3 separate regions of the Homo sapiens genome follow, and regions 1 and 3 are each linked to region 2. Evidence: promoter capture Hi-C in 16 types of primary human blood cells and fetal thymus (Javierre and others, 2016). All regions are on one chromosome and are shown on one strand. The core of a region is centred on a gene start or on the middle of the fragment in contact, and the rest is flanking DNA. Distances in the headings are between cores, read along the strand shown.

Region 1 (4,592 bases), core at 842-3,341, 810 kb before region 2:
TTCCTCCCACATGGCAATTCATTCACTCCCCACCTCCATGATTCCCAGGTACTACGACTGAATGCTAAATGAAGATTTTTTAGTAACTGGAAAGGCATCATCAACTCCACTAAAAAACTAATTCTATAAACTATACAGTGGACCTTTATTGGTAAGGGGATTGTATGAAGCAAGCCAGCCAGCAGAGAGTAAGACTATCATGGTGGCCTTCTTGCCCAGGGGTGTCTCAGGGTAGAGATCTCTTCAGGCTGGGGAGGGATCCTCAGAAATTGCTAAGAATCTCCCATCTGGAAGATGACATGTGGACTTCCATAGGAGATAAGATTTCTGACTCATATCTCACCAACTGGAATGGATCAGTTGAGAGCAAGGGGCTAAAGAACATTCTAGGTGGCGAAAAGCCTAGGGACTTGCTAGGGTGGGTAGGGACATAAAAAGGGCAAATAGGCGACAAAGCAGAGGAAAGCATTGGCCAAACTCAAAGGTATGTCAGAATTGGATGACTGAAATGGCTGGAGGAGGAAAAGAGTTGAGTGCTGAGTTTCAGTTAGAGGTGGCAATCCCTCCACAGTTGACCTCCTGTGTCAGGCACTGTGCCAGGTACTTTACACACATTATATTAATTTTTATTACAACCTTGAAAAGTAGACACAGAGACATCTGAAAGGACGTGGAACATGGGGAATAAGAACTAAACGAAGATGCTTGTGATGGGGGCATGGGGAGAAGTCAAACAGGTTTCAGGATTAATAGCTAAAGAGCACTGCCCTTTTCTTATGCGATAGGTACTATTCTATGTGCTTCTGGAAAACATCATCTACTAAATGATAGGATCTAAGATCAGTCACCCAAGAAATAAGCACAGAAAGGACTTAGGCCTTTGTTCCTATATTTGATGAGTATATTTGCTTCATAGAAGTAAAACAGACGACCCGGGGAGGGTGGGGGGTGGGGGGAGGGAAATTACAAGAAAGAAGCTCCTGAGTGGGATATTACAATCCAGAGTGGCACTGGGGAATTGGGGGGAGGTAGCCTGTGTTTCTGGAAGAGGCGTAAGAGTGGACAGCTTTGGGACACTGGAAAAGGGGTTCAAGGAAAGATTGGGGCGAGGGAAGCGATCTAGACCTGGGAAAAGACTGTGTGGAGGGAATCTGAGAAAAACGGAGGATAAAAAGAAAGGTTGGCTCGAGTCAGAGGCATGGCAAAGGAAGCTGAGTTCGTCTGTGTTAGGAACGGGGCTCCAGAGGAGAAGAGAGGGGACCGATGGGTGGGGCCTGCGGGCAGCATCTAGCAAGGTTGGGGTGGGGAAGGGGAAATAGGGGCGGCGCCGAAGGCGGGAGGGGGCGTTACTGAAGCGCTAAAGGGTCGGGTTTCCACCCGGAGGTGGGAGGTGTGGGGGAGGGTGGCCGGAATGGAGACGGAGGGCTCACGGGAGGTTGTCGAGGGGCGGGGTCGGATCTGGGCACACGAGGCGGGGGTTGGTGCTTGCGGGTCTGAGGGTGGGGGGAGAAGGGAGTTGGATCCCGACGCCCGGAGCTGGCAAGATTTGGGCCGTGGAGGTGGGCCGCCGCGAGGGCAGCGCAGTGGGTGGGGGGTGAGTTGTAGTGGGAGAGGGTGGGGGGCGGGGAAGGTCGAGCCCCGGAGCTCGGGGCTGGGGGAGGAAAAACCCCGGCTCACCGCTTGATCCGGAGTAGACACTGCGGCGCGGTGCGCTCGCCGTCCCAGTCGGAGCTGAGCGTGGGGTCCCAGTGGCTAAGCAGCGCGGCCCCGTGGGCAGCGGCTGAGGGCGGGAGCCCGGGCAGCGGAGCCAGGCCGCTCCCCGGGCCCCCGGCCCCGCCCGCTGCCGCCGCCGCCGCCCACACATCCGGCAGGAAAGGCGGCCCGAACCCGCCGCCGCTGCCGCTAACGCCAACAACACCAGCAACGCTGCTCGCCCCGGGGCCCGCCGCCCCGGCGCCCGCCGTTGCCGCCTCCTCAGTCGGACTCTCCGCCATCGCTGCTTCGCTTCCGGGACTACTCGGCAGCACGTCCGCCGACCAGAGCGGCCGCTGCTCCCGCCCGCTCCCGCACCACCGAGAACCGGGCCAGAGTGTCCCCACCCCCTCCGCTTCCACAGCCCAGACGGTGCTGGCTCCGCCCACCCCCGCCCCAACCAGCGAGAGGCGCTCTGCAAGAGCGTCCACCTACGGTCCTCCAGGACGGGAGGGGTGGGAACTAGCAGGCCGTGATGGTTCTGGGCTCGTGTGGGTCCTGCGCTGTGCGGAAGTAGCGGAGAGCCCAATTCAAGTGTTGAAAGGGGAGAAGAGAGGAGGGAGTGGGGGAGGAAGGGCCATATCATTCCCGTTAATGGCGGCGACCCTCAGACGTCTGCATGGTTAGGATTGGGGATCCAGCATCCTCATGGGAAGCTCAGTAGAGAAGTTGACTCGCTTTGGGCCCCTTCTCTCGGAAAGGCTCTGCGATTGATCCCTCCTGCACACTTGTGCACCTAGGGCAGGGTACCATTGCCCTTGCCTGCAACAGGACCAAGAGAGAACTCAACTTGGAATGAAAAGCTACCTCTTTTAGAGTTTATTCAACATATATTTATGAAGGGCCTACTAAATGCCAGTCACTGTTGCTAGTTGTTGCCATGGGGATAATGAAACAGAACTAGAGAAGCTTGGTGAAAGGAAGAAACATCAGGCCTCCTGACTCCAAGCTTAGTACTTTTTCTTCCCACAAATCTTGGAATATACAGGAATCGAGGTACTGTGAGTGTAAACCCTGAGGATTCTTTGGGTCTTTCCTAAAATGTTTAAAGTGAAAAATAATCTGCCAGGCTCGGTGGCTCACGCCTGTAATCCCAGCACTTTGGGAGGCCGAGGTGGGCGAATCACGAGGTTAGGAGTTCGAGACCAGCCTAACATGGTGAAACCCCGCCTCTATTAAAAATACAAAAATTAGCCGGGCGTGGTGGCGTGCACCTGTAGTCCCAGCTACTCAGGAGGCTTAGGCAGGTGGATCACTTGAACCCGGGAGGCGGAGTTTGCAGTGAGTTGAGATCACGCCACTGCACTCCAGCCTGGGCGACAGAGCCAGACTCCGTCTCAAAAAAAAAAAAAAAAATTCCTATGGACTAAGAATGACAGGGGCCTTCCTAAAAAACTGTTTTTCCTTGCCGGGCGCGGTGGCTCATGCCTGTAATCCCAGCACTTTGGGAGGCTGAGGCGGGCGGATCACTAGGTCAGGAGATCAAGACCATCCTGGCTAACACTGTGAAACCCCGTCTCTACTAAAAATACAAAAAATTAGCCGGGCGTGGTGGCGGGCGCCTGTAGTCCCAGCTACTCGGAAGGCTGAGGCAGGAGAATGGCGTGAACCCGGGAGGCGGAGCTTGCAGTGGGCGGAGATCGTGCCACTGCACTCCAGCCTGGGCGACAGAGCAAGACTCCGTCTCAAAACAAAAACAAAAACTTTTTTCCCTAGCAAAAATATAGGATCAATATTAACTGGAAACCAGTGGGGCCAGATGTATTTCAGACTTTGGAATGACACACCAAGCAAGGAGTGGGGCAGCGCCGGGTAGCCAAACCTATTGACATTTCTGCATCAAAGTGTATGAACATTCGTACCAAGTCAAATGAATAGCCTCACTTTGGATGTTTTGCCACCAAGTTTGGTTTTTTAAAAAAGAAGTCTGGGCCGGGCACGGTGGCTCACGTCTGTAATCCCAACAATTTGGGAGGCCGAGGTGGGTGGATCACCTGAGGTAAGGAGTTCGAGACCAGCTTGACCAATATGGTGAAACCCCGTCTCTACTAAAAATACAAAAATTAGCCGGGTGTGTTGGCAGGCGCCTGTAGTCCCAACTACTCAGGAGGCTGAGACAGAAGAATCACTTGAACCCGGGAAGGAGAAGTTGCAGTGAGCCGAGACTGAGTCACTGCACTCCATCCTGGGTAAAAGAGTGAGACTCCGTCTCAAAAAAAAGAGTCTGGCTTTAGAGTTTTTTTGTTTTTTGTTTTTTGTTTTTAAAGAGGGAATCTTGCTCTTGTCACGCAGGCTGGAGTGCAATGGCGCAATCGTGGCTCACTGCAATCTCCGCCTCCTGGGTTCAAACAATTCTCCTGCCTCAGCCTCCCCAGTAGCTGAGATTACAAGCATGCCTCTATGCCTGGCTAATTTTTTGTATTTTTTTAGTAGAGGCGCCTCTACGCCTGGCTAATTTTTTGTATTTTTTTAGTAGAGGCGAGGTTTCACCATGTTGGCCAGGAAGGTCTCCAACTCCTTTTGGAGTTGGATCAAGTCATCCGCCCTTCTCGGTCTCCCAAAGTGCTGGGATTACAGAAGTCATCCACCCACCCCACCCTTCCTGCCTTTTAGAGTTTTATGAATTTACAGTAATGGAATGCAGACCTGAAGGATAATGACCAAGATTTATGGAGAGCTAAAGATTGATTTGTTTTGAGACAGGGTCTTGCTCTGTCACCCAGACTGGAGTGCAGTGATGGGATCACAACTCACTGCAACCTCTGCCTCAGCCCTCCAAGTAGCTGGGATTACAGACACGTGCCACGATGCCCGGCTAATTTTTGTATTTTTCTGTAGAA
Region 2 (4,676 bases), core at 376-2,875:
TAGGTATAGAGCGCTGATTGGTGCATTTCACAATCCTCTTGTAAGACAGAAAAGTTCTCCAAGTCCCCACTCGACCCAGGAAGTCCAGCTGGCTTCACCTCTCATCTTCTCTGTGCTTTCTTGAAGCCCTTTTAACTAAACTCTATTATGATATTGCTGGGCTGGGTTTTTCTTACATGACAGTTCTCCAGAGCCGTGAACAGTGCCTGCATCAGCAAAACTGTCTTATAAATGCAAACTCCTGCCCTGAACAGTGCCTGCATCAGCAAAACTGTCTTATAAATGCAAACTCTTGCCTTTTGGGGTAGAGTGCAATAGAGTTTCCCTCTTCCTCCTGATTAGAAGGATACTTTAAAATAAAAAAATAAAACTTTAGTTATATTGTGGCTTAAAAACATGTTTTTTTCCTAATTGTGTGTTTCCTTGGGATGATTGGGTGAAAGGTGCTGACGGAGATTAATGACACTGAAAAAGGTGAGCACAACTTACAATGAAAAAGAGGACATTTTTGTGGCGCAGCCAGTGAAAAGGGGGAAATTCAGGAAGCTATGAGAGGCCTATGGGGGGACCTAACCTACTCTAGGGAATCAGGGAAGACCTCAAAGGGGAAGTAATCTTAACACTGAACAGTATTTTTTTTTTTAGACGAAGTTTCGCTCTTGTTGCCCAGGCTGGAGTGCAATGGCGCGATCTCGGCTCACTGTAACCTCCACCTCCTGGGTTCAAGCGATTCTCCTCCCTCAGCCTCCCGAGTAGCTGGCACTACAGGCGCCCGCCACGACGCCCAGCTAATTTTTGTATTTTAGTAGAGATGGGGTTTCACCATGTTGGCCAGGCTGGTCTTGAAACCCTGACCTCAAGTGATCCACCCACCTCCGCCTCCCCAAGTGTTGGGATTATAGGCTTGAGCCACCGTGCCGGCGTGAGTAGGAATTTTACAGAGATTTGAGGAGGCAGAGATTGAGGACTAAGAAATCATTGGAAATTTGAGGCAGCGGCGATATGATAAAGTTCTGGTGAAGAATCTAAGATTCAAAAATTTTGAGGATGTGAATTACAGAACTGTCCAGAAGTGGTTGATTTTTTGGGGGCCAAGCATCAGGGGGCTCGCTTATAAAAATCATATGTTCTAATTTTTTTTTTTTTTTTTTTTTGAGATGGAGTCTCGCTCCATCGCCCAGGCTGGATCGCAGTGGCTGGATCTCGGCTCACTGCAAGCTCCGCCTCCCAAGTTCAAGCAATTCTTGTCTCAGCCTCCTGAGTAGCTGGGACTACAGGCACCTGCCACCACGCTCGGCTAATTTTTGCATTTTTAGTAGAGACAGGGTTTCACCTTGTTGGTAAGACTGGTCTCGAACCCCTGACCTCAGGTGATCCACCCGCCTCGGCCTCCCAAAGTGCTGGGATGACAGGCGTGAGCGACTGCCCCTGGCCCATATGTTCTAATATTCTAGGTTACAACGCTCTACGCTGCAATCTCTCCACCGTTACAGTTTAAAAACTATAAGTCCCTACCACCCTCGCCTACTGTGCGTGCGCGGCGCGCGGCGCTTCGGGCCTTGTAGTCTTGGACAGACCCCCGAGGCCCATGGTGCCGTGCGGCGGGTCGTTGCGCCTGCGCGGTGCGAGCGGCGGGCAGCGCAGACTGCGAGGCTCTTTTGTTCGGCTGAGGGGAGGGCCGTTGGCCGGGGCCTGCGGTACGCCGCTTCAGTGAGGGACGCCACTGCGGCCACCCGGCTTGCTGCCTTCCTGGGCGCCACTCCCCCAGGCGACCCGACGCGACGCGCCAGCAGCGCAGCACCGATTCCTCTCGGGCTCTTGGGCGCTGCTCTGAGGTGAGGAGCCCGCTGGAGGCGGGAGAGCTGGGGGAGGGGGCGCGGCGGCGGCGGCGGCGGGAGCCCTGCGTGAGGGAACGCGCTTTCGAGGCGGAGGTTAGGAGCGGGGAGCGCGCCCGGGTCCAGCGTCCTGCTTCTCCGCTTCCCGCGCTGAGCTCTTCGCCTGTCGCTGAGGCGTCGGTGCCAGCTGCGTGAAGGATGGAGAGGGCGGGGCGCGAATCCTGAGCCAGAGACTGAGTGCTTGGGGGTGGGCCGAGCACTTGGGGGCCGCTCTTCGGGGCCCGGGTGGTCTGGAACAATGTTGCTTGGCTGGGCGGCTGCGGGATAGGGCGGAAGGGGACAGGCTTGAGGCTTGGATAGGCGTGAGGAGGCGCATACGACCGCACAACCCGAGGTTTGTAACTGTATTCGGAAGACGCCGGGTCCGGCTGGGACTGCCAGAGGAACCTGGCTTTGCAGGACTACGGAGGAGTAACGTCGAGTGAATTGGAAGAGGGCCCAGGGCCGCACAAGGTGTGCTGATTGGAGGAGGAGATGTGTGGAATAAATTGGGAAAGGGGACACGGAGGGGGAGGGGCAGGCGTTTGCTGGGCCTGACTCTGGAAGGGGAGGAGCTGTTAGGATAAGTAGGGCGGAGATCCCGAGAATATTTCTATAAGGTATGTAAGAAAAAAGGGGAAAGCAGGCCGCCCTTGCATCCTGATGGGTCCTTACAGTGGGGAGGCTGTAAGAATAATGTGCGAAGAAAGGATGGAATACGCTTTTTTCAGTTTTCCAGGTTTCCTACTACCTTCACTCCATGATTCCTTTGGGGAGTTAAAAAAGTCCAAGTGCAGTTCTTGCTTTGATTCAAAATTAGTTCCGTACGTTTTTGTGTGGGATCGTAACTGGTCTCACAAAGGTGATGAAATTGTAAAAATATGTAGATGAGTTAATAGTTGAGGAACGGCGTGAGGTAGTGAGAGATTGTGAGATCGTGTGAGGTGCGAGAAATTGGGAGACATAGGAAAATTATGTGAGATTGTGAGGTAATATTTGTTTCGTGGGCCCTTCTGTTTTTAGCCAGCTTTTCCTTGTTGGAAAATTTGAATAGAGTGAGCTATATTTTACCTCTTTTTTTTTTTTTTTTTGAGAAGAGTCTTCCTCTGTTGCCCAGGCTGGAGTGCAGTGGTGCGATCTTGGCTCACTGCAACCTCCACCTCCCGGATTCATGCGATTCTCTTGCCTCAGCCTCCCGACTAGCTGGGATTACAGGCACACGCCACCACGCCCGGCTAATTTTTGTATTTTTAGTAGAGACGGGGTTTCACCGTACTGGTCACGCTGGTCTCGAACTCCTGACCTCGTGATCCTCCCGCGTCGGCCTCCCAAAGTGCTGGGATTATAGGCGTGAGCCACTGCGCCTGGCCATATTTTACCTCTTTTTCAAAGTTTCAAATGAGGGTTTTTCATAAATTGGTGTTACATTTAGACGTGTTGGTTTAACGCAATTGAGGTGGAATTTACAAAAAGTTCAGCTATAATCAGTTATATACTAGAACCCCTAGCCCAGGGTAAAGTAGCCTCCTCAATTGTGTTAAGAGTCACATCAGCAGTTTGGAAAGATTGTGAAAGGTCCAAGGCTTTGGAATAGATTCAGGAATACAATGGGGAAATTAATGCCGGTGTTCCTCCCTAGGTGCCTTATAGACTTTTATATGAAAGTGGTGTGATTGAAAAGCACTTGTATTGAAACCGGTGGCACCTTAATGAAGCTTCACGGGAGTGGAGGACCTGAAGTCGTTTACGGTTTTCCCTGTGGTGATATTTTTCTTCAATGGCTGCTGTATCCTAAATTGTTTCTCATTAAAAAAATAAATAGTAGGGTCGGGCGCAGTGGCTCAAGCCTGTCATCCCAGCACTTTGGGAGTCTGAGGTGGGCGGATCATGAGGTCAAGAGATCGAGACCATCCTGGCCAACCAACATGGTGAAACCCTGTCTCTACTAAAAATACAAAATTAGCTGGGCCTAGTGGCGCATGCCTGTAGTCCCAGCTACTCGGGAGGCTGAGGCAGGAGAATCGCTTGAACCCGGGAGGCAGAGGTTGCAGTGAGCCGAGATCTGCACCACTGCACTCCAGCCCGGGCAACAGAGCGAGACTCTGTCTCAAAAAAAAGAAAAGATAGATGATAGGTAGATAGATGGTGTGTGAAATAAATAGTTTTGAATGTAAATAGAAGCCTAGTGGTAAGTAAGTTACCCTGGTCTTCTGCATTTCTGAATACAGGATACCTATAACTTACAAACTATACCTCTAAAGAAAGATAGCACTCATTCTTGTGCCCATTTTAAGGACTAGGAAAATGTTTCTCTTTGTTGTTCACACCATTTGAAAATAATTCATTAAATTTTGGCATCCTCTAGTGGTTTATCTAGCAAAACCTCCCTTTTTTAAAAAAAAATCCTATCTGCAGTGGTGTAAGAGATTTTGCATTAGATTTGGTAGATTTTCACTTCATAGGTTCTTTCCACGAAGAGTTTCTGGTGTAGAAGGCTAATTGCTAGTTTATGGGCTCCCATAAAATGGAGCCATACTGGCCCCATCTCTACTAAAAATACAAAATTAGCTGGGCGTGGTGGTGCACACCTGTAATCCCAGCTACTTGGGAGGCTGAGGCAGGAGAATCGTTTGAACCCGGGAGGCAGAGGTTGCCATGAGCCGAGATCGCGCTATTGCACTCCAGCCTGGGCAACAAGAGCGAAACTCTGTCTCAAAAAAAGAAAAATGAAAAAATGGGGACGCACCTCTTGTTCATTAGTGCCTGGCACATAGTAGGCCGTTCAGATTGTTGATGAATGAA
Region 3 (4,575 bases), core at 1,022-3,521, 550 kb before region 2:
ACAATGATAAAATGAATGAACTGCTGCCATATACAACACCATGGATGAGTCCCACACAAGTAATACTGAGCAGATGAAGCCAGACAAAAGAATACATACTTATGTTTATATGAAGTTGAAGGATTAGACAAAACTAATCTATGGTGATAGAAAGCCAAATAATTGTTAGGGGGTATGGAGGGATTGACCAGAGAGCTATTGATTGGTAGGAGTTACAATGGGGCCTTCTGGTAAGCCGGAAACATCTTGATCTAGGTGGTGGTTACACAGATGGGATCTATGCAAAAATATATTGAGCCAGAGGTTTAATATTAGGTTCTATAATACTATATATCAACAAAAAGTGAAGAAAAAGTAGAAAAATAGACCCAAATAGAAAAAATTCTGGGGCCGGGCATGGTGGCTCACGCCTGTAATCCCAGCACTTTGGGAGGCTGAGGCGGGCGGATGACCTGAGGTAGGGAGTTCGAGACCAGCCTGACGAACTGGAGAAACCCCATCTCTACTAAAAATACAAAATTAGCTGGGCGTTGGCCGGGTGCAGTGGCTCATGCCTGTAATCTCAGCACTTTGGGAGGCTGAGGCGGGCGGATCACCTGAGGTCGGGAGTTCGAGACCAGCCTGACCAACATGGAGAAACCCCGTCTCTATTAAAAATACAAAAAATTAGCTGCGCATGGTGGCACATGCCTGTAATCCCAGCTACTAGGGAGGCTGAGGCAGGAGAACCCGGGAGGCAGAGGTTGCGGTGAGCTGGGATTGTGCCATTGCACTCCAGCCTGGGCAACAAGAGCGAAACTCTGTCTCAGAAAAAACAAACAAACAAAAAAACAAAAACAAAACAAAACAAAAACATTTTGGAAGCAAAATTTAGTTTTGTCATATTTCTATATTCATGTTTACGTGGATATAGAATAAAATTCCCATTTGGATGCATTTTTCTCTCAGCGGTTCAAGCTCAACAGAACCTGCAAATGAGAGGAGGCTGCAGAAGCAAAGCATAAGAAGACATATCATGGCTAGGAGCCGTGGCTCACACCTCTAATCCCAGCACTTTGGGAGGCTGAGGCAAGCGGATCACCTGACGTCAGGAGCCGAGACCAGCCTGGCCAACATGGTGAAAACCCGTCTCTACTAAAACTACACAAATTAGCTGGGCGTGGTGGCACACACCTGTGGTCCCAGCTACTCGGGAGGCTGAAGTGGGAGAATCGCTTGAACTCAAGAGGCGGAGGTTGCAGTGAGCCGAGATTGCACCATTGCACTCCAGCCTGGGTGACAGATCAAGACTTCATCTCAAAAAAGAAGACACATCAATCCTAAATCTAAATGTGGTACACACCTAGGAAGACACATCAACCTTAAATGTACACACCTAATAACAGAGCTTCAAAAATATATGAAGCACCGAAAATGATAGAATTGAAAGGAGAAATGGACAAATCCACAATTATAGTAAGATATTTCAACAGTTCTCACTTGGTAAAATCACTTGTAAAATCACTCTGCCCATTTTACAGAGGAAAAACTGAGGCCTAAAAGGAGAAGGGGTGGGGGCTGAAGTCAGTGGCAGAGCCAGGCTTAGGACACAGAGCTCAGGCACACCTCTACATGCCCCCTGGACAACCACCTGCAGGAAGGGACTGGATTGTGAGGGGGTGTCCCCAGTCCCATGCAGGTTGAGGAGGAAGCAGGGTCTCAGGGCTGAGGTCAGGGAGGGGGGGCACTCCTTAGAGACCAGACAGCCAGGAATGCCACTGTTTGTCGTAGTTTCACTGATTTTAAGGAGGTTAAACCTCTATTTGGGTCTCAGAAATAAAGAGAAGAGCCTGCAATTCCAGGATAGCACGCTAACGAAGGGCCAAAACGCAAAGGCGTCCTGAGGGCTAAGATGGAAAGTGAAACTTTCAAGCTCCTTCTCTAACCTTGGCCAAGGTCGTTCCCTCTGGGTTCATAGAATAGGGAGGAACCCATGTAAGGCACAGGGAACAGAAGAAAGGAGGCAGGTAGAGGGACAACCTTCAGCCTGGTGCAGCCATCCCGGTCGAACAACCCCAGGCAGGAGCCGCTCGGTGGCCGAGGATGGCGGGAAGTCGCTGGGCTGCGGCTGGGGCGGGAGGTGGGCGGAGGAGGGTCCGGCGCTCTCTTTCTCCGGATTCGGAGCCCTAAGTGTGGATCAGTCGCCTCCCGCCCAGGGTGTGAGCGCCCCCTCCCCTTCTCAGCCTCCTTCGGCCTCGCCCCTCCCTCTCACATTTCCAACTCCCAAGGATAACTTGTCGCTCGCTTCAGACGCCCATGGCTTCTTTCAGCCCCTGGGACTCAGCTTTCTCCTCTACCTCTTTTGTCTATTTGTGCATTTGATGTTTCTCTGGGCGCGCCCTTGGATCTGCTTCTCTCTTGCCTTTTATATTCTCATATTCTCATATTCTCTCTCTCTCTCTCTCTCTCTCTCTCTCTCTCCCTCCCTCCCTCCCTCCCTCTCTCCCTCCCTCTCTCCCTCTCTGCCTCTCTCCCTCTCTCTCTCTTCTCTCTCTCTCTCTCTTCTCTCTCTCTTCTCTCTCTCTCTGCTCTCTCCGGCCATCTGGGCGCTGCTCCTCCGCGCCTCTGGCCTCCCCGCGGCGCGCCAGGCCCATCTCCTCACCAGCCGCTCTGGGATCCGACGGCGCCGTGGGTGGGGGCAGGTGAGACGGCCGAGCCCCGCCCGGGCGGAGGCAGGAAGCGCTCTCGCCTATCCCCCTCCCGGACCCTGTCCTCGCCCGCCACTCACCGGCGCCAGGGGAACGCAGGAGCGTGAGCCCCTTCGCGCCCCCAGCGCCGTCGGCGTCGCTGCCCCAGACACAGACACTGCCTCGAGAGGCCTCACAGAGGCGGGGGCAGAAGGCGGCGACCCAGAGCCGCCACATCCCCCGCCTTGGGCGCCGTCACAGTCCCCAGACGCCCTGGACTCCTGCAGTCTACGAAGACGCGCGGGGGACGGCGTGGTTCCGAGAGGTAGGTGAGGAGGCGGGCGCAGCCCTTCCTCTCGCAGCTGGGGACTGCGGCGTGAAAGGCCCCTCTCCAAGCTGGGCAGCCCCGTGGCCCGAGCTTTCAGGACCAACCGCCCGTGGCAGGCGTGGGCTTCCCGGGGCCACCGGCTTAACCTTGATCTCCAGACCGAGGCAGCTTCCCGGGTAGGGCCTCGGGGCGCACCCGAAAACGCCTTGGCCTCCCTGTCCGCTGGCACCCGACCCTACCTCTCCAACAGGTGTGTGTGTGGGGAAAGGGGGTCGCCTCCCCTCGTTCTACCGGAAACCCTGGCTCCCCAGAGCCGAGTGCTCAGTGCCCCGCCCAGCCTGAGGCCCTGCGTCCTGGGCCTCCTGCTCACAACCCCGGATTCCAGGCGGATGCCGTGAGAGAGGCAAGGGCCAGACGCCCTGAGCAGCCTTGGGGGTGAGGAATCGCTTGGGATGGAAGAAGGGCCACTTTTCCTAACGGAAATTAGGAATTGGCCTGGAACTCTTGGTCTAGACAGAAGCCCCCAGCTCCCCAAGGTGCAGAATCAGCTCTCCCGCGCGCTGTCTCTCTAGCTGCCTCCTGGCGTGGAGGGGGCAGAATACTTGGGGGAGTCTCTTGCTTTGGCTTTTGGGGGCCTCATAGGTTTTCTTCCCCTCTGGACTGTGAGCAGCCTCCTGCCTGAGAGAGCGTGTATCTGAATCTAAGGAATGCCAGGAGACGCCATCTTATTTGAAACCCACACTCACAAAAACGGGGCATGTGCATTTTTGTGGAGGGACCTGTTGTTTATGGGAGTGGGCAGAGGGCATCCAAAGGATTTCAAACTGTATGGACTGACTCATGGGTCAATACAAAAATTATTCGCCTTTGAAAAGGCATGTAAAGAAAAGCAAGCATAAAGGGGTGTGCATCGTGCATCGTGGGTATTGTGGAGTCTGAGAGGAATTAGTAACTCGCCGGAGTCGGCTAGGAATCTTATATGACAGCAACTGTGCCTCTCGGAGTAGTCAAGCACCGTTTAAAGATTGAGGATTTATACAGACATGCGAAAGAGATGTGAAATTATGTGCTCCCAACTGTGCTCAATAATAAAGGCAGTAGAAGGGAAATTCATATTTTCATCTATATGCCTCCCCCCTCGCAAAGTAGAACATTGCATGGTATATTTCACATAGTCCACATACCAGAGGCGGAATGTGCAACTGACTGCCCAGGACTGTGCTTTCCAGTACAAATGGAAGCACAAAGATGCCTAATGGAGAAGAGTTAAGTGAAAGTTCTCTTTTCTCAGTGCACTTCCCTAACCCTTTGAGGAAGCAAGTCTGGGGGGCCTTTCCTGATAGGATCTTCCCTCCAAATCCCTTTTGGAGCTGGAGCTCCTCTCTTTCCCTAAAGTCTGGCGCACTTGGCTCCAAGTCCCCATTTCTCCAGTCCAGAAGGGATGAAGCCTCCTCCACCCCAAACATATAGCCTTTGGCTCGCTGGGAGGAGAATTGCTCACCTTCTGCGGTGGTTTAGAACACCACCCTACACAGGGATACACATACACAGTGCCCCAGAGGAAATGCAAAGAAAGGTTTT

Evidence for each region. The method cuts DNA at HindIII sites, captures the fragments that hold promoters and counts their contacts. A CHiCAGO score of 5 or more calls a contact.
Region 1: the fragment with the promoter of UBE2Z here is called in contact with the fragment with the promoter of CBX1 in region 2 in 1 of 17 cell types (M2 macrophages); the score reaches 5.8 in M2 macrophages.
Region 3: a contact is called between a fragment that was not itself captured here and the fragment with the promoter of CBX1 in region 2, in 2 of 17 cell types (total CD8 T cells and megakaryocytes). The highest score is 5.5, in total CD8 T cells.

What each region holds. Positions count from the first base shown.
Region 1 is chr17:48,905,906-48,910,497 of GRCh38, reverse strand. It overlaps UBE2Z (ubiquitin conjugating enzyme E2 Z), which reads right to left and starts at 2,091. Exons shown (of 7, transcript NM_023079.5): 1 at 1,678-2,091. The coding sequence starts at 1,994. It overlaps LOC105371814 (a long non-coding RNA gene), which reads left to right and starts at 1,515. Exons shown (of 4, transcript NR_135674.1): 1 at 1,515-1,559. RefSeq lists enhancers at 310-359, 380-429 and silencers at 1,303-1,432, 1,703-1,952. The HindIII fragment of the contact is 3,469 bases long and covers 1-2,663 here.
Region 2 is chr17:48,098,427-48,103,102 of GRCh38, reverse strand. It overlaps CBX1 (chromobox 1), which reads left to right and starts at 1,625. Exons shown (of 5, transcript NM_001127228.2): 1 at 1,625-1,835. RefSeq lists enhancers at 1,207-1,466, 1,293-1,892 and a silencer at 1,837-1,886. The HindIII fragment of the contact is 8,551 bases long and covers 1-3,591 here.
Region 3 is chr17:48,645,021-48,649,595 of GRCh38, reverse strand. LINC03057 (long intergenic non-protein coding RNA 3057) reads left to right here and starts at 2,744. Exons shown (of 2, transcript NR_186590.1): 1 at 2,744-2,991. It overlaps LINC02086 (long intergenic non-protein coding RNA 2086), which reads right to left. Exons shown (of 8, transcript NR_189645.1): 1 at 3,234-4,575. RefSeq lists enhancers at 1,951-2,160, 3,051-3,100, 2,539-3,207 and a silencer at 2,651-2,830. The HindIII fragment of the contact is 5,086 bases long and covers 1-4,575 here.